2 separate regions of the Homo sapiens genome follow, and region 2 is linked to region 1. The links are contacts of gene promoters, found by promoter capture Hi-C in human tissues and cell types (Jung and others, 2019). All regions are on one chromosome and are shown on one strand. Each heading gives the region's core, a stretch centred on a gene start or on the middle of the fragment in contact. The rest is flanking DNA. Distances are from core to core; before and after follow the strand shown. Region 1 holds the start of UCMA (upper zone of growth plate and cartilage matrix associated). Region 2 overlaps MCM10 (minichromosome maintenance 10 replication initiation factor).

Evidence for each region. The method cuts DNA at HindIII sites, captures the fragments that hold promoters and counts their contacts. A contact is called where the count stands out against the background at its distance.
Region 2: a fragment that was not itself captured here is called in contact with the fragment with the promoter of UCMA in region 1 in 1 of the 25 tissues and cell types used here (mesenchymal stem cells).

Annotation. Positions count from the first base shown.
Region 1 is chr10:13,231,332-13,235,718 of GRCh38, reverse strand. UCMA (upper zone of growth plate and cartilage matrix associated) reads left to right here and starts at 1,345. Exons shown (of 5, transcript NM_145314.3): 1 at 1,345-1,518; 2 at 1,919-1,984; 3 at 2,086-2,181. The coding sequence starts at 1,461. RefSeq lists an enhancer at 732-1,642. The HindIII fragment of the contact is 17,086 bases long and covers 1-4,387 here.
Region 2 is chr10:13,174,519-13,179,277 of GRCh38, reverse strand. MCM10 (minichromosome maintenance 10 replication initiation factor) reads right to left here. Exons shown (of 20, transcript NM_018518.5): 6 at 3,597-3,768. Among named protein-coding and RNA genes, the nearest start is that of MCM10, 15 kb to the right of the region's middle. The HindIII fragment of the contact is 4,349 bases long and covers 516-4,759 here.

The DNA.
Region 1 (4,387 bases), core at 96-2,595:
CATTAGTGGTCCCATTTCTGGGAACCCATTTCCTCCCCTACATGGAGTATGATGTGTGTCTTCCTAGAGATGCAGGATTAGCTGTGGAGCTTTTCAGATACCTGCCCTTCTCCCCCTCCGCTGTGGAAGGTGATTGAATTTGGCCTTGCTGTTTTTAAATTTTTTTTTTTTTTTTTTTTTTGAGATGGAGTCTCGCTCTGTTACCCAGGCTGTAGTGCAGTGGTGCAATCTCGGCTCACTGCAAGATCTGCCTCCCGGGTTCACGCCATTCTCCTGCCTCAGCCTCTCTGAGTAGCTGGGACTACAGGTGCCCGCCACCACGCCCGGCTAATTTTTTTTGTATTTTTAGTAGAGACGAGATTTCACCGTGGTCTCGATCTCCTGACCTCATGATCCGCCCACCTCTGCCTCCCAAAGTGCTGGGATTACAAGCGTGAGCCACCGTGCCCGGCCGCTGTTTTTAACTTTTAAATTTTTATTTTATTTTATTTTATATGTATTTTTTTTTTGGGACTGAGTCTTGCTCTGTCACCCCAGCTGGAGTATAGTGGCGCGGTCTCGGCTCACTGCAACCTCTGCCTCCCGGGTTCAAGTGATTCTCCTGCCTCAGCCTCCTGAGTAGCTGGGATTACAGACGCCCGCCACCATGCCCGGCTAATTTGTTTATTTTTATTTTTAATAGAGACAGGGTTTCACCGTGTTGGCCAGGCTGGTCTCGAACTCCTAACCTCAGGTGATCTGCCTGCCTCGGCCTCCCAAAGTGCAGGGGTTCCAGGCATGAGCCACCGCGGGAAGGCAATTGACTTTAAAGGGCTCTGGGACCCGCGGCCCCAGGAGTTTGTGTTTGGCTTGGCAGTGAGCATCAGCTGGAAGCAGTGCATCAGGTAAGGTGTTCTCTGGTCGCTGTCAGCATGACCCACACGTCTGTGTGTCACCCTGATGGGTATTCCAGTCATTATGAGCCCTTCTTGACTGACATTTAGATCAAAACTCCCCCATTGATCCTCTCTTCCTCCTTGCCCCCACCCATGCTTCAACCCTGAGGACCGGGGCCCTAACGTCCCTGGAGCAGGTGCCAGGACCTCCTTGACACAGGCCTTGGTCACTGGAACCCTGACTGTTAGGATGAGCCTTCCCAGCAGCAGATCCCCAGACACGGACATTGGAAAGGCCACTCCAAGACCGTCCCACCCAGGGCCCTAACTACAAGCTCTGCTTCTGGAGACATTTGCCAGGTGCCAAAAACATCTCCGTTGCTCCATCTAGGAGCAGCCAATGGAAAGGGCAGCCCAGCCCCCTCCTCCTCTCCCCCAGTGGTATCCCAGCCTCCTGCCTCTCTCTTCCCTCCCCCGCCTTCCTTCCTCTCGCCTGGGCTGCCTGCCTCAGAAGTGGGGACCCAAAGGGTGCAGGACGCCTGGTCTGCCTTGTGGGTCCTGGACGGAGCCCCTACCTCTGCAAAGATGACTTGGAGACAGGCCGTCCTGCTGTCTTGCTTCTCCGCCGTGGTGCTCCTGTCTAGTGAGTACAGGAGGGTCAAGGTGGAGGGTGTTAGTTACATGGTAAGGGAGACTTACCATGCACAGGTAAGGCTGCTCAGGTGATGCAGGTAGAAAGGAGTATGCTTATTGTTAACATGTGTGTATGTGTGTGTCGTGTGCATGTAGGACACAATGCAATACAGAAAAATAATAATAATAATAAAAAACAGTAAAGAAAGAAACAAAATAGAAAAAAAACCCAAGCCAGCTTGCTTGGTGGGTTCCTGGGGAGATTGGCTCTGCAGCTGGTACGTGAGAAACCACGGGCCCCCTGCCAGGCCCTGGCAGGACGCTTAGCCTGGAAAGAGAGATGGGGACTCAGCTCAGGGTCTGGGCTCCCCTCTGATGCTGCAGCCTCACTCTGTGCCCTTGTCCTGCAGTGCTGAGAGAGGGAACCAGTGTATCTGTGGGCACCATGCAGATGGCGGGAGAAGAGGCGAGTGAAGGTGAGTGCAGGGGCCACCCACGGGGCAGGGCAGGTGCAGCCAGCGAAGCAGCAGCCCCAGCACCCCCACACTGCTGGTGACAGGCCTCTCCCGGGTTTCAGATGCAAAACAGAAGATTTTCATGCAGGAATCAGATGCCTCGAATTTCCTCAAGAGGCGCGGCAAGCGGTCCCCCAAGTCCAGAGATGAGGTCAATGGTAAGGATGCTGGAGGGACCCCATCCCGCGTCCATCACCACCTCTGCTCACACCCCCCGGCTCCTCCTCTCCCACAGTCAGCCGGGCAGCAGGATGCAGCTGGGCACGAAGGGCTCACCCCAGGGTATCAAAGGGACTGCAGCTCTGAATGAGAAATTACACCCTATTTCCTGACTGTAGGTCGTATATTGGATTGAATACTTTGTCAGGGTTAGGAGGCCCCACCTCTGCAAAGATGACTTGGAGACAGGTCCTCTTGTCCTGCTTCTTGGCCATGATGCTACATTAAACACACCTAACAGGGATAAGATGCATTGGATTTCAGAAAGGTGTAGGGAGGGAAATCTATATTCTGGTCTGGAGGCGACCCACACATCAGTGTGTGCTTTGCGGGTACTGGTCCAGCACACCTTCTGTATAAGAGCAACAGCATCGCACATGGGGAAGGCACAGGACACTGGGTGCTGAGAAATGTGGGTCTGGGGACAGCTGTGCTGCTAAGTGGCCTTGGCTACTTCCTCCCTCTGGTCCTAATTTCCTTATTTATAAGCCTCTGAAAGAGCTGTGTTCAGCCAGCAGAGGTTTTTTTTTTTTTAAGTTTTCATTTTCAACACATTGGGGTGAGCCTGTCTGTTGCACAGCCTGCTGTAGGGCCTGTGGAGCCCCGGCTTCAGGGTCCTCATGCCCTTCACCTGCCAACCCCTGAGGGCATTTGAGTTTCTACTCCTGAACCTGCTTCTTCCAAGATGCTGAGCTCAGACAGTATCTCCCGAGTCTCTGGCTTGAGTCTTTCCTCCTCGTGCCTGTGGGTGAATGAACTCTTTGTATTCTTCAGGGCACTCAGCAAGGTGACTTGCTTGGTAAAAATAACAGGACTGTTTTCAAATGATGGGAAGAACAGAGATAGAAATGCTTGGAGATGAAATTTCTTTTTTTAAAAAAAATTGAATAAGTATAACCGTGCTAGGAAAACCTCCAGGCCTCATACAACTGGAGATTTAAAAGTTGGCCAATGTCAAGAAGCACTGAAAGGTTGGGAGGGGGGCTGGACTGTTTTTGATTAAAATGGGAGAAGCAATCTTCTGGCAGACTTCCAGGGGAAACAGGCATGATTTTAGGCCAGGCAAATAGCTTCTGTCCTCTTTTTTTTTTTTTTTTTTTTTTTTGAGATGGAGTCTCACTCTGTCGCCCAGGCTGGAGTGCAGTGGCAGGATCTTGGCTCATTGCAACCTCCACCTCCCAGGTTCAGGTAATACTCCTGCTTCAGCCTCCCAAGTAGCTGGAATTACAGATGCCTGCCACCACGCCTGCTAATTTTTGTATTTTTGTAGAGACAGAATTTTGCCATGATGGCCAGGCTGGTTTCGAACTCCTGAACTCAGGTGACCCCCCTGCCTCGGCCTCTTAGAGTGCTGAGATTACAGGCATGAGCCACCGCGCATGGCCTCTTCTGTCCTCTTAAGCTGACTCCAAACAATGAGCTACACCATTTAGCCTGAAGTGCCTTACCTCGGACAGAAGCTCAGTGTGTCAATTAGTCATGGGAGGTGCAGGACAGCCTGGTGAACACCCAGGATTGTGCATGAATGCATCTGCTGTCACCCAGTCAACTCCTGTGGATAGCAGGAGGGCAGTGCCCAGCGATGCCTCAGGTTGGATAAAGGGCAGGTGACAGACACTTCAGCCAACTTGAATTTGGAACCAGGAGACAGGCATCTGACATCTCTAAGCCTCTGGGATAAAGGTGAAGTTACTTTAGGGTGAAAAGAGAGTGTGATGAATGCATGTTCTTGAGAAGAAACGTATACAATGCACAGAATGACACATAGTATAAAATTACTATCTTGTCCTGAGGATTAAATTGTTCTTATTCATTACGTCAAAGCTCTAATTTGTGACACCTCTGAAAAGACCACTTGGGAAGATTGTTTGCTGTCCTGAGTACACAGGGGACAGAGGACGCTTCTTTAGGAATAGGCAGTGACTTACTAAGTACCTGCTTCCTAAACCCTAAGCCCCCGCACCTCCCACAACGGCTTTCTGGCGCTTGGAGCAACATCAGGACCCACAGTGGGTGGGAAGAGGGAAGCTGAGCCAGCAGTGGCGTGTGGGAACCTGGTACCCTAGCTCTGCCCCAATCTGCTGTGTGACCTCTGTTAGGTCATGCACATCTCTGAGCCTGAATCCCCTCTGAGAAATGTGTGAA
Region 2 (4,759 bases), core at 1,441-3,940, 58 kb after region 1:
CACCAAGAAAAGAGCCTCATCACACATACACAGTAGGCAAACAGCTTAGGGGAGTCCTAGCTAGAGCAATCAGATGAGAAAGAAATAAAGGGCATCCAAATTGGAAAAGAAAAAGTCAAATTATCCCTGTTTGCAGATGATAATGATCTTATATTTGGAAAAACCTGAAGACTCCACCAAAAAACTATTAGCACTGATAAATAAATTCAATAAAGTTGCAGGATACAAAATCAATATTCAAAAATCAGTAGCATTTCTAGATGCCAACAACGAACAATCTGAAAAAGAAATCAAGAAAGTAATCCCATTTACAACTGCTCCAAATAAAACACCTAGGAATACACTTAACCAAAGAAGTGAAAGATCTCTACAATAAAAACTAAAAGACATTGATGCAAGAAATTAAAGAGGATACCAAATATGGAAAAATAGCCTATGTTGATGGATTTAAAGAATCAATGTTGTTCAACTGTCCATACAATCCAAAGCAATCTAGAGCGTCAATGCAATCTCCATCAAAGTACCAATGACAGTCTTCACAGAAACAGAAAAAACAACCCTAAAGGTATATGGAATCACAAAAGACCCAAAATAGCCAAAGCAATCCCGAGCAAAAAGAACAAAACTGGAGGAATCAGATTACCTGACTTCAAATTATACGAAAGCTATAGTAACCAAAACAGCATGGTACTGGCATAGAGAAACCAGAAACGAATCCATAAATCTGCAATGAACTCATTTTCAACAAAGGTGCAAAGAACATACATTGGGGAAAGGACAGTCTCTTCAACAAATGGTGCAGGGAAAACTGGATATCCATATGCAGGAGAATGAAACTAGATCCCTATCTCTCGCCATATACAAAAATCAACTCAAAATGTATTCAAGAGGCTGGGCACCGTGGCTCACGCCTGTAATCCCAGCACTTTGGGAGGCCGAGGCAGGTGGATCACCTGAGGTCAGGAGTTTGAGACCAGCCTGGCCAGCATGGCGGTTTCTACTAAAAATACAAAAATTAGCCAGGCACTGTGGTGCGTGCTTGTAGTCTGAGCTACTCGGGAGGCTGAGAGGCAAGAGAATCACTTGAACTCGGGAGGCAGAGGTTGCAGTGAGCTGAGATCACGATACTGTACTACAGCCAGGGAACAGAGCAAGACTGTCTCAAAAAAAAGATTAAAGACTTAAATCTAAGACCCAAAGCTATGAGATTACTAAAAGAAAACATTGGGGAAACTCTCTAGGACATTGGTCTTGGCTAAGATTTGTTGAGTAGTAACACGAAAGCACAGGTAACCAAAGCAAAAATAGACAAATAAGCAGATCTCCCAAACAATCTTGCTGCCATCCAGGGGTGCCTTACATATAAGTCCGAGTCATTCTTTGGCTTTTGGATCCTTCTCAGTTCTGAGGAAACTTTTTTTTTTTTTTGAGATAGGGTCTTGCTCTGTTGTCCAGGATGGAGCGCAGTGGCACAATCTTGGCCCGCTGCAGCCTTGACTTCCCCACTCAGCCTACCAAGCAGCTGGAACTAGAGGCGCATGTCACCACACCGGGCTAAATTTTGTTTCTGTAGAGATGGGGTTTTGTCCTGTTGCCCAGGCTGGTCTCAAACTCCTGAGCTCAAGCAATCTGCCACCCTCAGCCTCCCTAAGTGCTGGGATTACAGGTGTAAGCCACCATGCCCAGCTAGGGAAAGGTTCTTCTATACAGCCCAGGGTTTTTTCTGTAACAATGAGTTAATAGATTAAAAAAAAAAAAAAAAAAAAAAAGCTCCAAAATCTAAAACTTTTGAGCACAAACATGACACTCAAAGGAAATACTGCAGCATTTCAGATTTGGGATTTTCAGATTTGGGATGCTTAACTAGCAAGTCTATTAAATGTAAATATTCCAGAATCCAAAATCCAAAACAGTTCTGGTCCCAAGCATTTTGGATAAGGGACCCTCGACCTGTGTCGGGGAATTTCTATTAATATGTCCTTTAGAGTATTTTTAAGGCCTGAGGTTCACATTTAACAATGACAAAGAGACCCAAACAATTCTGTGATCCCTTAAATTTAAAAGCCACTCAGAAGCTTTTGCTGAGTAGTTTAAGTCTCTTCTATCTCAATTCTGATTCACATGTGCAATAAATGCCCACCAGCAGCAACATGGTTCATTACCCATAGGGAGCTTCAAGTGGGCCATGGCTGGGGCAGGCAGTAGCATCTCAGGTGGGGGCAATTCTCTACCTTGAGAAGGAAGCCTGCAGCCCCCTCAATGAGAACCACAGCTTCTACTGCTGTATTCTGTTTCTTAGAGTCTGTCTCAGATGTAATTAAGATATAAATACATTCTTCAGTTTTGGAGAATACCAACTCTTTACAAGACACTTCTTGTTTGTGGAAACAAGGTCTTGTTCTGTTGCCCAGGCTGGAGTGCAGTGGTATGATCATAGCTCACTGCAGTCTTGAACTCCTGGGCTCAAGCGAACTTCCTGCCTCAGCACCCCCAGGTAGCTAGGACTACAGGTGCACACCACTGTGTCCAGCTAATTTACTTTTTGTAGAGATGAGGTCTCACTATGTTACCCCAGCTAGTCTCGAGCTCCTGACTTCAAGCAATCCTCCTGCCTTGGCCTCCCAAAGTGTTGGGATAGCAGGTGTGAGCTACCACGCCCAGCCTTATAATACACTTTTATTGTATGTTGGCAACACTTGTTCTCCTCTGCTAATAATATATACTTTAAGAGCTTAGCAGTTTTAGTTGTTGGCTGATATTTACACTGACAAGGTTTCAGAGTTTTAGAGGGTTTCACTTGGTTCCTCAAATGGACTGTGCTAAAAGCAATCCAGTCTCACAGTAAGGAGTACTGTTCTGCCCTGGGATTATCCAGATGTAATGATGGAGATGCAATGGAGTAGTGATACAGAGTATAGATAATTAAAAAAATTAAAATAAAGTTAGAAAAAAGTCCAAGATTTGAATATAGCTTTTAATTGGATTGAGCTTGGAATATATTCCTATTATAACAGGCTATCTTAAATGTATCCCTATAACAGATGCAAAGAATATAAATTTGCCTTAAAAAGACTATTAGAAAGAAAAACAGCATAGCTATTTTTCTTAACATCAACTACAAGAATCAATAGAAATAGAAAAAATGATCCTAAAATTTATACAGAACCGCAAAAGACCCAGAAGAGCCAAAGCAATCCAGTAATTGCTTAATTGCATAAATATTATCCTGGTTAAACTGTCTGTGTATTTAAAAAGTCTAAATTATACCTCAATAGAGATGGAGAAAAATTTTAAAAATCTACTATTTCCATCTGTCAATTTCTGATTAAATATACTATCATTTGTCCATTTCTTTTTATAGATACAGATTCTTTGTTGATTACATACACAAGAAAAAGTCTTTCTTAAACATTTTATATGCAACTGTACTTAGTCAAACCTAGGGCTACTGCTAGTCTTCCAGTGGTGTTTTGTCCAGTTCAAGAGCTGCTGGTGTTTTGTGGATCCTGATGTATAAACACACTACTTCTAAAGGACTCCGAGAGGCACAAAAAGCTATGCCGTGGCGCACATGAATAGATGGTTTAGCTACTGACCTGAGCCGCAGACCAGAGAAGGCTTCCACACAGATGGGTTGAGTCGTTTCCCCAGAACTTCCTGGGGTCCCCACAATTTGACCTCTAGTTATCCCACTAGGTTTGTTCCGAGAAATCGTCTGTAGGGGTTGGGAGGGTGCACTTGTCATCCTTGAAGATGAGCTTTTGGGATCTAGAAAATTAACACAATTAATGAAAAGGCAACCACACTGATAATCACGAACGGAATTTGGAAATTTGTTTTTACGGATTTGTTCCTTTGAGATAGGGACTCACTGTGTCACCCAGGCAGGAGTGCAATGGTGGCGTGATCTGGGATCACTGCAACCTCCATCTCCTGGGTTTAAGCGATTTCTGAGTAGCTGGGAACACAGGTATGTGCCACCATGCTCGGCTAATTTTTGTATTTTTTGTAGAGACGGGTTTTGCCATGTTGCCCAGGCTGGTCTCAAACCCCTGAGCCCAAGCAATCCACCCACCTAGGCCTCCCAAAGTGCTGGGATTACAGGCGTGAGACATTGCACACGCACACAGTCCGAACTGTTCCTTTTTTTTTTTGAGATGGAGTTTCACTCTTGTTGCCCAGAGTGCAGTGGTGCGATCTCAGCTCACCACAACCTCCGCCTCCAGGGTTCAAGCAATTCTCCTGCCTCAGCCTCCCAAGTAGCTGGGATTACAGGCATGCGCCACCACGTCCGGCTAATTTTGTATTTTTAGTAGGGATGGGGTTTCTCCATGTTGGTCAGGCTGGTCTCGAACTCCCGACCTCAGGTGATCCGCCTGCCTCAGCCTCCTAAAGTGCTGGGATTACAGGCATGAACCACCGCCCCCGGCCAGGATTGTCCCTTTTTTAAAGCAACACATGCAATAATCAAATCTTGGGAACAAAGCATGCCCCACAAGACCATTTCTTGGACTTACAGTCCAATAGAACTTTCTCTGATGATAATAATGTTGTACATTGGTGCTGTCCAATAGGGTGCTAGCTACCAGACACATGTGACCATCAGTCACTTAAATGTGACCCTGTGCTTTTAAGGAAATACATTTCTAACTAAATTTAATCTAATTTTAACTTAAATATCCACAGGTGGCTAGTGGCTACTGTACTAGATAGTTCCACTCTATAATACTGATTCTCTATGCAATGATGTTTACTGAAT